2 separate regions of the Homo sapiens genome follow, and region 1 is linked to region 2. Evidence: promoter capture Hi-C in human tissues and cell types (Jung and others, 2019). All regions are on one chromosome and are shown on one strand. Each heading gives the region's core, a stretch centred on a gene start or on the middle of the fragment in contact. The rest is flanking DNA. Distances are from core to core; before and after follow the strand shown. Region 1 holds the start of POLR2C (RNA polymerase II subunit C). Region 2 has its middle 22 kb from the start of CCL22.

Region 1 (6,587 bases), core at 4,044-6,543, 120 kb before region 2:
AAAATATGAAAAGGTATTTAACCTAAAAAAAATGTACTGAAAGGAGAGGAGTCTGTTTGAGATGAAAAGAGACTAAAGTGCTATGAGGACCAAATGAATCTTCACTGGATCAAGACTGACCCACAAACAAACAGAAAAACAATAAAGGATATTTGGGGAAAAACTAGGAAAATCTGAATATTGATATTACAGATTAATGCTAACTTTCTTAGGCACAATGAAAGTGTAGTTATGTAGGAAACTATTCTTATTAGGAAATGCATGCTGAAGTACTTGGAAGTGTTAGGATGTCTGCAACTTTCACACAGTTCAGCAAAAATAACAATTTGCATATGAAAAATAAAGCAAATGTAAAATATTAATTGGTAACTATAGGTGAAAAGTAAAGGGTATTATTTTAGTTTTTCAACTTTTCTACAGATTTTCAGAAAAAGCCAGAGAGAGAGAGAGACAGACCATGCCATCTTTGTGCAATAAATACTAGAAAAAATTTTAATGAAAGGAACTGCTAGGTGATAGAGCATGCGTATCTTTATGTAAGATATCGCCAAATTGCTCTTAATTGGTTGTACAACGGTCCCCACCAATATCTATGTTTTATTTATTAAAAAACAAAAATCTGGAGATCTGAAACAAATAGGGCAAAATGTTAAAATGTGACAACGTAGTATTAGGTAGAAGCATGAGTATTTATTACACTAGCTCCATGCTTTTCTGTGCTTGAATATTTCTTTTTTTTGAGACGGAGTCTCACTTTGTCACCCAGGCTGGAGTGCAGTGGCGCAATCTCGGCTCACTGCAAGCTCCGCCTCCCGGGTTCATGCCATTCTCCTGCCTCAGCCTCCCGAGTAGCTGGGACTACTTGGGAGCGGGACCACGCTCGGCTAATATTTTGTATTTTTAGTAGAGACAGGGTTTCACCGTGTCAGCCAGGATGGTCTCGATCTCCTGACCTCGTGATAAACCCGCCTCGGCCTCCCAAAGTGCTGGGATTACAGGTGTGAGCCACTGCATCCAGCTGAATATTTCTTTTTTAAAAATACACACATATTTATAAGATATATCAAATTAGCCATCACAAAAATGACATGGCCCTTGAGAATATTAGAAAATGGACTGATTCTGGATCACCCAAAGCCATCAAGAGGGAGTAGCCTTAAGCTGCTGTGTAATGCAGCCTAGTGAAAGGATGAAGGTAACCGACTCCTATCCTACTCTCTCCAAACTCTGAAGGCCTGTTAACATGCCATCAGGGAGCAAACACGACCAGGAGGAAGGGGGTGAGACACTAAGAGTGTGGCCATGTTTAAGCAGCATCACCTGCGAGGGAGGGGACAGCATGAATCTGCAGACACCAGGACTAGTCCCCCAGGAGCTGCTCTTGTGAGACAGCTCCCATTCCCTCTGCTCCTTGCCTACCCCAACCTTCTGTTGACTCCTGTAGCATCCTAAGGCCCCTGCTACTGGGAAGAGATGCTTTGGAAGGAAGAACCTCCACTCTAAGTATAAATGGGCACTGTGGTGGAGCTGCCTAACAACACTCCCTGATGTTCTGCGTGCTAATCAATCTGAAGCCCCATCAGAACGCAGGACCAAGGCCTGCCCAGGCTCTAGACAACATCTCCACGTTGTTGTTCCAGAACTACAACAGTATTCAAGCTGGATGCCAAATGTCAGGAAAAATCCCTTTGAGAACCAAAGCCTCCCCACCAAACCTCACATTCCACCCAATCACACAACATACCCGAGAGTACTGCAGCTTGTCCACAATGTCATCACTAATGAGGGGAATTAATCCTGTAAAAAACAGAAAAGCACTTTAAAGAAAACCAAACAGCCAAGCCAAAATGAGAACCCAGAAGCCTTCTGGGGGTGAGGCTGGAAGGAGGCCCCCTCCTGACACTAGGCACAATACCCTCCCTTTAACCTCCTAGTAAAAGGAGTACTCACCAAGCCTGTGAGCAATGAATTCATCATGAAGAACTGAGGAATTGGCATCAATCTGAACCCAGTCAATGGCTAAAAAATGAAAGAAGCAGACATGGAGTTTAGCCATCAAATTTACCTACAGACTTAATGCAGTGGTTCTCAAGATTTAGGAATCACCTGACACTAAACTGCAGATTGCTGGGCTGATTCCACAGCATTAGAGTGGGGCCCAGGTACTTGCATTTTAATAAGACCCACACACACCACACCTCACCTCCCTGCCCAGGTGAATTTAATGCAGGGGGCTCCCTGCTTCACAGAAAACACTGACTTATAGAATATCATAGAAGTGGAAACATGTTTATTTGAGCTGAGTATTTGCATGAGAAGCACTTAAATCTGCTACCTGTGCCACCACTAAATCCAAGAACATGAACTATTTGAGCACTTCAAAGTCAGGGAAACCCTCACAGAAGCAACACAGACTTATGGGGCCATACCTCATTTTAGGATATAATGACTGGACTGCCCAACTTAGCACTTTTTAAACACTCAATCAACAAATGTTTACTGAATTCTTTTAATGCGCAAAGTATACTAAATATAGAACCCAATCCCTAGCAGCAATGAGCTCGTAGGAGGGTAAAGACTGTATTATCGATCACACATGCTTGACTTAAACACACATTTATTCATTCATAAACATTTGCATGGAACCAACTAAATCCAGGAATCAAATGGCACTGGAGCCCAACTGCCAAACGAGGGACACAGACACTAGGAACAGCGGTCGGAAGAGGACCTCCCCCTGCCAGGCCTCCACCTGCTCTGTCCTGCTATGCTTCCCATTGCTTCCCCAGTCCAAGCCAACTGAGAGAACCCTGACCCAAGCTTTTCTGCCTCTTTAATCCCCCAGCCCTTCCCTCCAGCACACCCTTCCCCTCCTTGCTGTACAGGTTAAGATCCTCTGTGCCTCCTGAAAACTAAGCCTTGCCTGCTCTCTATGCTACAGATGTGACATTCCCTCCCTTTCAACTCCTCTCTCACAAAACTCTGTTCAGACTTCCCTCAAGACACTTGTCATAGTGTGCCTTGTGTCATATTTGTGTATGTTATGTCTATACCTCAAGCTTCAGAAATTCCTTCACGCAGGTCCTGGGATGTCTTTGTATTCCTAGCATGGGTGCTCAATATTATTTGTAGAACTGAATTTGTTGGGAAAGAGGCATTTAGACTCAGAATGGCAGGGCTGCATCATGAAGTACAACTCCCTCACCTGACTCCTGATGAAACTGAGGTCCAGAGGCATGAAGTGCTTAGGCAGGGGGAGGTCCAGCACTCCAAGCTGAATTTAAGAAGTGACTGGGGGGCGGGGGGGTGGGGTGGTGGTGGTAGTGGATAAACTACAATGTTCTCTTGCCTAATCATTTGGCCTGCTTATTTCCTTAAAAGTCTGAATATTTGATGCCACAGCTATGACTTATATTTATTTTGCCTAATCCAAACTCTCTGAGCTGACTCTCAGAAATGCTTGAAGTATTTCATACAAGTATAATCAATGCATTAAGCACCTGGAGCAGAGTGGCTGGAACCAGACCAGAAATTGATCTTCCCTCCTCTAAGAGCCAAGTGCACCACAGCTATGCTTCTCCTGAACTACTGATCAAAATCTACCTTGCTTTAGTGTTGTCTGTGGATTCATCTCTCCCCTACAACCTCACTGTGGACTCCATGAGGGCAAAAACCCTGTTCTCTACAGCTTTGCATTCCCAGAGCTTACCACCATGCCTGCCACTTTCATGCTCCATAAATGCTGTTGAAGGAATAGATTAATAAAAAAGCCATCTACCAGCACTGAGCACTCACTAAACACAAAGCACTTATATGGATTACCTCACTTAATCCTTAACATTACCCTGATAAGGATCATTAGTGGCCGAATGTTACAGATGAGGAAACTGCAGCACACAGAAGTTTAATAACTTGCCCAAGTTTCACAAAAGCAGTAAGTGATGCAGCCATAAGAACGAACGAAATCATGTCCTCTGCAGCAACATGGACGTGGCTGGAAGCCACTATCTTCTTTTTTATTTTCTTTTGTTTGAGAAGGAGTCTCACTCTATTGCCCAGGCCAGAGTGCAGTGGCATGATCTCGGCTCACTGCAACCTCCACCTTCTGGGTTCAATCAATTCTGCCTCAGCCTCCCCAGTAGCTGGGATTACAGGTGGGAGCCACCACACCTGGCTAATTTTTGCATTTTTAGTAGAGGCGGGCTTTCCCCATGTTGGCCAGGCTGGTCTCAAACTCCTGGCCTCAGGTGTTCCTCAGTCTTGGCCTCCCAAAGTGCTGGAATTACAGGCGCGAGCGCGGCCTGGAAGCCATTATCCTAAGAGAATTAACACAGGAACAGAAAACCAAACACCGCATGGGAGCTAAAACTGGGTACGCACGGACATAAAGATGACAATAAACACACTGGTGACTACTAGAGCTGGAAGGGAGGCAGTGGGGCTAGGGGTGAAAAACTACCTATTGCGTACTATGCTCACTACCTGGGTGAAAGGATCATTTATACCCCAAATCTCAGCATCACGCACTATACCCAGGCAACAAACCTGCACCAATGTACCCCTTGACTCCAAAATAAAAGTTGAAAACATTTTAAAAACTTTTGTAACAATAGTAGTGAAAACAGTATTTGAACCCAAGTCTGCACACTGCTAAACCCATGCTTCTCAGCAATGCATACCCAGGACAAGGGTGGACCTAAGTGGCCCGTGGGCGCCAGGGAGGCGGCCACTGAGCCAAGGGCACAGGGTATGGTCAAGTCTCCAGCAATGCACTTTTCTCAGCACTACCACCCTCAGCCCGAACCAAGGACTGGAAGGAGCCCCAAAGAGTGTGTGGGTGGAGAGCGGGGCAGGAACCCGTGGGCGCGGGAACGAGGAAGGGGAGTCGCTTACCTATTATGGGAACCTCAGCGATGAAGACCCTCCGAATCGAATTGGCCACCCTGAAAGATCAAAAGCCAAGGGGCGTGAAGGCGCTGCAGCCTCGACAGGCTGGGCCCGCGCCGCAGGCTCCCAAAGCTAAAGCCCTGGTGCAGGGGGGCAGCTCTGGAAGGACATCGCCCCCACCCCACCCCACTACACCCCCGCCCCCTGCCCCGGGGCCCCGGCTTGGGCCTCCCGGCGCCCCAGAGCCGCCAGCCTCTTCCCTCGGTAGCCTTACGCCAGGTCGGTGTTCTCGATGATGAACTTGACATTCTCGTCAGTGAGCTCCGTGATCCGCACGGTAGGCTGGTTGGCGTACGGCATCTCGCCCAGGGGCCACCAGCCTCCGCGTCTGCTCCGCGGTGACTGCGCGGCGCCACCGCCAACACCGGAAGTCAGTCAGCGAGGCCTCCGCGGCTTCCGCAAAGACGACTCACAGCGCCGCCTGCTGCTCGGAGGCCAGAACTGCCGAGCGTCTTCTGCGGCCTCCTGCTTTAAAATGTACCAGATTCAGCTATCTCGGAGGGTAGTTTGGCAAAACACGCATACGTCCTTCACTTAACAGTAACACTTCTAAGAATTCATACTGCAGAAACACTTGCAGTTGTAAACAAAGATACGAGTGCAGGGACGTTCGTGGTAGTACTGTTTGTACTGTCCATTGATAAGAGACCTGGTGGAGTATACACACATGGAATACTATGAAGCACTTAAAAAGAACTTGTACATCTATAGAAAAACAAAAGTATATTTTAATATGAATGTATATTTTAGCAAAGTATACCTGAATTATAAGTAAATACCCTTTCCCTTGCAGTCTCAAGTATGGACCATGCACTTCTGAAAACTTCAGGAAAAGATACAATGTTCTTTAACCTAATGCTTCCTCTACAGTCTGTGTAGCTGTGGTGGGTGAGTGGGAACTCTTTGTCTCTGCATCCCCAGTGCCTGGCAGTGGGCACCATGTGGGGTGCATGCTCAACAAAGAACTACTGAAGTCCCCTAAACAGACTGGAGAGAGGTTTAAATGGGCCTCAAAAAAAGTGGCTGCTGCTCCAACAGAGAAAAGCTCTAAAATAGAACGTGGCAGGAAATACATTTAAGAGTTGGGAGAAGAGTAACCAGATAAAGAGGAGTTTGCCTTTGCAAAGAGTGACACCTCTTCCTGAAACAGAGGGTGGGCACTGATGGAACCCTGCTCCATAACCTGTGTCATCTTGGTAAATTAAGAATTATGGTTGTCTGCTGAGTGTAAGATGGATGCTATGAAGGAAAAAGGAGAATGCAATGAAAACTGGAACAGCTACTGCGAAAACTTCACAGGATGTCAAGAGATACAAGGAATTGAGAGGTGCAAAAAAGATCCAGTGGAAGACCCACAAGAGATCTGAAATTCAATTAGTTGCTGACTTTCCCCCATTAATATTCAGCTGACAGGCAGAAGAGAGCAAAGCAGAAAACAGAGCTAACCAGACGTGCAAAGGGAACCCAGCCAGTGTAGAGGCTGAGAAAATTACTGGGGCTAAAGAATGTACCACTAAAATCGTCAGACAAGAGCAGCCAAGGGAGCTGATGGTCTGTGGGAAGGCTTCTGTTACCCGTATTTTACTGATGGGAAGACTTGAGCCCAGAGACGCAGAGGTACTATAATTACCACTATGTAT
Region 2 (6,505 bases), core at 1,351-3,850:
AGAGGTTGCAGTGAGCAGAGATTACGCCACTGCACTCCAGCCTGGGTGACAGAGCAAGACTCTGTCTCAAAAAAAAAAAAAAAAAAAAAAAAAAAAGAAGAAGAAGAAGAAGAAGAAGAACCCAGAAACCCCCTCATGACCTCTTCCATCACAACCCCTCTGCTGCCACCACCAAGGAAAGCCCATTCTGGCTCCTAATACCTAAACTAGTTATTTCTATTTGAATCATAGAAAAAGTGACTGGGTGCACTGGGTGCTCATGCCTCTAATCCCAGCACTTTGGGAAGCTGAGGTAGGAGGATTACCTGAGCCCAAGTTCGAGACCAGCCTAGGCAATGTAGTGAGGCCCCATCTCTCCAAAAAAAAAAAAAAAAATACAAAAATTAGCCAGGCATGGTGATGCAAGCCTGTGGCCCCTAGCTACTAGAGAGACTGAGGTGGGAGGATCACTTGAGCCTGGGAGGCCAAGGCTGCAATGAGCCGGGGGGGGTGACAGAGAGAAACACTGTCTCAAAAAAACAAACAAACAAAGAACAGAAAGAAACACTGAATCATACAGAAAGCATTCCTTTATGCCTGACTTCTTCTCTTTTTTTGAGACAGCGTCTCGCTCTGTCACCCAGACTGGAGTCCGGTGGCACGATCACGGTTCGCTTCAGCCTCAACCTCAGCTATCCTCCCACCTCAGCTCCCCTAGCAGCTAGGACTACAGGCATGAGCCACTGCACCTGGCCTGTGCCTGACTCCTTTCATTCAACATTATGTTTAGGAGATTCAGCCATGTCTTTGCTTGCCCTTTTACTTCATTCTCATTCCTCCACAGTATTCCATTGTAAGAATGTATCACATATAGATGGGACTTCCAGAATGACTGAGTGAGGAAGCTCTGAAACACCCACCCACCCACACAAAGCCCTCATTCTTTTCTCATTAAAGTTCAAGACTTTTCAAAGTAAACACTTCTCAATTTGTTACATACTGTGTTAGTTTTTTCTTTTTTCTTTTTTTGAGACAGAATCTCACTCTGTCACCCATTATTCTACCTACTACTTATAATTTTGATCAATCTCCAGTTTTCAAATGATTATTTTTTCTCACAGTTTTGCAGTTTTGTTATAAGTTTTTGTAGTTTGTTATAAGTTCTGCTAAGTTTTGTATTTTTAGTAGAAATGGGGTTTTTCCATGTTGGCCAGGCTAGTCTCAAACACCTGACCTCAGGTGATCCACCCGCCTCAGCCTCCTACAGTGCTGGAATTAGAGGCATGAGCCACCGTGCCCTGCCAAGAAAAATTATTTTTAAGAGAACCAATAGAAATTCTGGATTTGAAAAGTATAGTGTCTAAAATGAAAATTTCCCTGGAGGGGCTTAAAAGCAAATTTGAGCTGACAAAATAAAGAATTGGCAATCTTGAGGATAGATCAGCAGAGATTATACAAGCTGAATAATGGAGAGAAAAAAGACTGAAGAAAATGAACAGAGACTAAGAAGCCTTGGCCCATCATCAAATGCACCAACATCCAGGTAACAGGACTCTGAGAAAGAGGGAAAAAATAGAGAAATGGGCAGAAAAAATATTCAAAGAAAAAAATGGCTGAAAAATTCCAAAATTTGATGATAACATTAATCTACACATCCTAGAATCTGAATGAGCCAGAAGTAGGATAGACTCAAAGAGATCCACACATGAGCACGTTATAATTAAACTGTTGAAAAGAAGAAAATAAAAACTTGAAAGCAGAAAAGAAAATCCATCATATACACAGAAATGACAGTAAGATTAACACATGACTTTTGTCCAAAACAATGGAGAAATACACAACAAACTAGGAATAGAAGGAAACTACCTAAGCATAGTTATGTGCAGATTAAAACAAACCTGATAGTGAAAGACTGAAAGCTTGTTCTCTAAGACCAGGAATAAGTAAGGATGCCTGCTTTCACCACTTCTAATAACATAGTACTGGAATCCTAGCCAGAGCAATTAGGCAAGAAAGAGAAATAAAAGGCATCCATATTGACAATGAAGAAGTAAAATTATCTCTGTTTGAAGATGACATGATCCTATATGCAGCAAACCCTAAAAATTGCATCCATTAAAAAGCTATTAAAACTAACAAACAATTCAGTAAAGTTGCAGGACACAAAATGGTCACATAAAAGTCAATTGCAGCTGGGTGTGGTGGCTTATGCCTGTAATCCCAGCACTTTGGGATGCCAAGGCAGATGGATCACTTGAGCTCACAAGTTCAAGAACAGCCTGGGCAATATGGCGAAACCCTGTCCCTACAAAAAGTACCAGAATTCACTGAGTGTGGTGGTGCACGCTTGTGGTCCAAGCTACTTGGGAGGCTGAGGCAGGAGGATGGTTTGAGCCTGGAAGGCAGAGGTTGCAGTGAGTCGAGATCGCACCACTGCTCTCCAGCCTGGGTGACAGAGCCAGATCTTGTCAAAAAAAAAAAAAAGCAAACAACAATTGCATCTCTACACACTAACAATTAACAATCTGAAAATAAAATTAAGAAAATAATTCCATTTACAATAGCATCAAAAAGAATAAAATATGTAGGAATAAACCTAACCTAACCAACAAGATAAAAGGCTTATATGTTGAAAACTACAAATGTTTCTGAAAGAAACAAAGACACAAATAAATGGAAAGACATCCTATGTTCATGGATCAAAAGACTTAATATTGTTAAGATGTCAATAGTAACCAAAGCAATCTACAAATTTAATCCAATCCCTATCAAAATCCCAACATCATTTTTAAAAAAAATTCTAAAATTTATATGGAAACTCAAGAGAACCCAAATTGCCAAAATAATATTGAAAGAGAAAAACAAAGTTGGAAACATCACACTTTCTGACTTAAAAACATACTACAGGCTAGGCAGGGTGGCTCATGTTTATAACCCCAGCACTTTGAGAGGTCAAAGCAGGAGAAATGCTTGAGGCCAGGAGTTTGAGGCCAGCCTGGGCAACAAAGTGAGATCCCATCTCTACAAAAAATAATAATAATAAATAAAAATAAATAATAAAACATACTGCAAAGCAACAGTAATCAAAGCAGTGTGGTACCAGTATAAAGACAGACATATAAATGGATGGAACAAAATACAGAGCCCAGAAATAAACTCTTGTTCATATGGTCAAATGAGCTTTGACAGGAGTGAAAAGACTATACAATGGAGAAAGGACAGTTTCTTCAACAAATGATATGGGAGAACTGAATATCCACATACAAAAGAATAAAGTAAGATCCTTACTTTATACACCATATACAAAAATTAAATCAAAATGGATCAAAAACCTAAATGTAAAAAATAAACTATAAAACTTTTAGAAGAAAACATACAAGAAAGCTTCATGACATCAGACTTGGCAAGGATTTTCTGGATAATCATACCAAAAGCACAGATAACAAAAGTAAAAATAGATACATTAAACTACATCAAAATCTAAAACTTCTGTGCATCAAATGACACAATCAACAGAGTGAAAAGACAACCTATAGAATGAGAGACTATATTTGCAATTACATATCCAGGGTTAATATGCAAAATATATGAGGAACTCGGCCAGGTGCAGTGGCTCACGCCTGTAATCCCAGCACTTTGGGAAGCCAAGGCAGGTGGTTCACCTGAAGTCAGGAGTTAGAGACCAGCCTAGCCAACATGGTGAAACCCCATCTCTACTAAAAAATACAAAAAATTAGCCAGGTGCGGTGGTGTTCACCTGTAATACCAGCTACTTGGGAGGTTGAGGCAGGAGAATCGCTTAAATCTAGGAGGCAGAGGCAGCAGTGAGCTGAGATCGCACCACTGCACTCCAGCCTGGGTGACAGAGTGAGACTCCGTCTCAAAAAAAAAAAAAAACATATATATATACACATATATATATATATATGTATATATATATATATGTATATATGAGGAACTCCTGCAACACAATAAGAAAAAGACAAATAACCCAATTTTAAAATGAACAAAGGACTTGAATAGGTATTTCTCCTAAAAAGATATACAAATGGCCGGCCAGGCATGGTGGCTTACACCTGTAATCCAAGCACTTTGGGAGGCTGAGGCAGGCAGATCACAAGGTCAGGAGATCGAGACCATCCCATGAATGGTGAAACCCCATCTCTACTAAAAATACAAAAAATTAGCTGGGCATGGTGGCGGGCGCCTGTAGTTCCAGCTACTTGGGAGGCTGAGGCGGGAGAATGGCGTGAACCCAGGAGGCGGAGCTTGCAGTGAGCCGAGATCACGCCACTGCACTCCAGCCTGGGCAACACAGCAAGACTCCGTCAAAAAAAAAAAAAAAAAAGCAGATAGACAAATGGCCAAGATGAAAAAACGTTAAACATCATTATTTATTAGGAAACTGCAAATCAAGACAAATATCAACCCACACCCATTAGGATGACTAATTAAAAAAAAAAAGACAGAAAATAACAAGTGATGGCAAGGATGTGGAGGAATTGGAACTCTTGTTCACCGCTGGTGGGAATATAAAATTGTATAGCCACTATGGAAAACAGTATGGTGGTTCCTGAAAAAATTAAAAGTAGAATACTATGTGATCCAGACATTCCTTTTTGGGGTATATATCCAAAAGAATTGAAAGCAGGATCTTGAACAGATACCTGCACATTCATGTTCACTGTGGCATTTTTCATAACAGTCAAGAGGTGGAAGCAACCCAAGTGTCCATCAACAGATGAATGCATAAACCAGATGTGGCATATACACAAAGTGAATATTATTCATTAAAAAGGAAGGAAATTACGACACGTACAACATGGATGACTTTGAGAACATTACGCCAAGTAAAATAAGCCAGTCTCAAAAGGCAATACTGTATAATTCCCCTCATGTGAGGTAACTAGAGTAGTCAAATTCACAGAGACAGGAAGTACAATGGTGGTTGTCAAAGGCTGTGGGGGATGAGGGAATGGGGAGCTGTTTAATGGGCATAGAGCTCCATTTTGCAAAAAAGATGTTCTAGATACTGCTCACACATCATTGCGGGTGTAGCTGACACTAAGAGATCGAGCTGACTGGTATCTCTTCTGATGAGGATACTAATCCTATCAGATCAAGGCTCCATCCTTATGACCTATTTAACCTCAATTACTTCTTTAGAGGGCCCATCACCAAATACAGCCACACTGGGGCTTAGAGTTTCAACATATGGATTTTTGGAGACACAAACATTCAGTTCATAACAAGCAACTGGGAAGGTGGAATGTGATTGCTAGAGTTTCCATGTTACATCATTTTATTTTTTTCTTTTATTTCCGTGGGACCCTGCTTGATAACATGTTGTATCATTTTAAATTTCCAGTTTTTAATTTAAAAATTTTGGAGACATGTCAAAAAATGGGAAAGTATGACCCATACATTAGGTGAGGGAGAGTAGTCAATAGAAGCTGTCTCCTGAGGAAGCCCAAACATTGAACTGTGAGACAACAGCTTTAAGTCAACTATTATAAATATGTTCAATGAACAAAAAGAAACCATGTCTAAAGAATTAAAATATACAATGTCTCACCTATAGAGAATACCAATAAAGAGATAGAAATTGTAAAATAAGGAACAAACAGAAATTCTGGAGTTGAAAAACATAATAACTGAAATGAAAAAATTCACTGGAAGGGCTCTAAAGCAGCTTTGAGCTGGCAGAAGGAATAATTTGTGAACTTGAAGATAGGTTAATTAAGATTATTCAGTCTCGGCCAGGCGCAGTGGCTCACGCCTGTAATGCTAGCACTTTGGGAGGCCAAGGTGGGCAGATCACCTGAGGTCAGGAGTTCAAGACCAGTCTGGCCAACGTGGTGAAACCCCATTTCTACTAAAAACACAAAAAACAGCCGGGCATGTGGTGGTGCATGCCTGTAATCCCAGCTACTCAGAGGCTGAAGTGGGAGAATTGCTTGAACCCCAAAGGCAGAAGTTGCAGTGAGCCGAGACTGTGACACAGCCTTCCAGGCTGGGCAACATAGTGAGACTGTGAGACTCTATCTCAAAAAAAAGAAAAGAAAATAAAAAGAAAGAAAGATTATCCAGTCTATAAAATGGTAGAGGGCAGGGAATGAAAAATGTGAACAGAGCCTCAGAGACCTGTGTTATGCTATCAAACACACCAACGTATGTGTAGTGGGAGTCCCAGAAGGAGAAAAAACAGTAGAAAAACTATTTGAAAAAACAATGGCTGAAAGCTTTCCAAACTTAATGAGCAACATTAATCCTCACATTTAAGAATCTCTCAGTGTGAAATTGGGTTAGGAAAAAAAAAGAATCTCAATGAACTTAAAGTAAGATAAATTCAAAGAGATCATCACCTAGACACGTCATTATAAAACCCTGGAAAGACAGCTAAAGAGAGAATCTTGAGAGCAGCAAGAGAAAACCCATTCACCACAGACAAAGGATCCTCAATAAGATTAATAGCTGTCAGCTGGGCGTGTTGGCTCACACTTGTAATCTCAGCACTTTGGGAGGC

The links. Contacts are between HindIII fragments. The study calls those that stand out against the background at their distance.
Region 1: a contact is called between the fragment with the promoter of POLR2C here and a fragment that was not itself captured in region 2, in 5 of the 25 tissues and cell types used here (IMR-90 fibroblasts, dorsolateral prefrontal cortex, liver and 2 more).

Annotation. Positions count from the first base shown.
Region 1 is chr16:57,461,385-57,467,971 of GRCh38, reverse strand. POLR2C (RNA polymerase II subunit C) reads right to left here and starts at 5,293. Exons shown (of 9, transcript NM_032940.3): 1 at 5,162-5,293; 2 at 4,894-4,943; 3 at 1,951-2,019; 4 at 1,745-1,797. The coding sequence starts at 5,247. RefSeq lists an enhancer at 5,141-5,435. The HindIII fragment of the contact is 18,274 bases long and covers 1-6,587 here.
Region 2 is chr16:57,333,911-57,340,415 of GRCh38, reverse strand. No RefSeq gene overlaps it. Among named protein-coding and RNA genes, the nearest start is that of CCL22, 22 kb to the left of the region's middle. The HindIII fragment of the contact is 4,385 bases long and covers 408-4,792 here.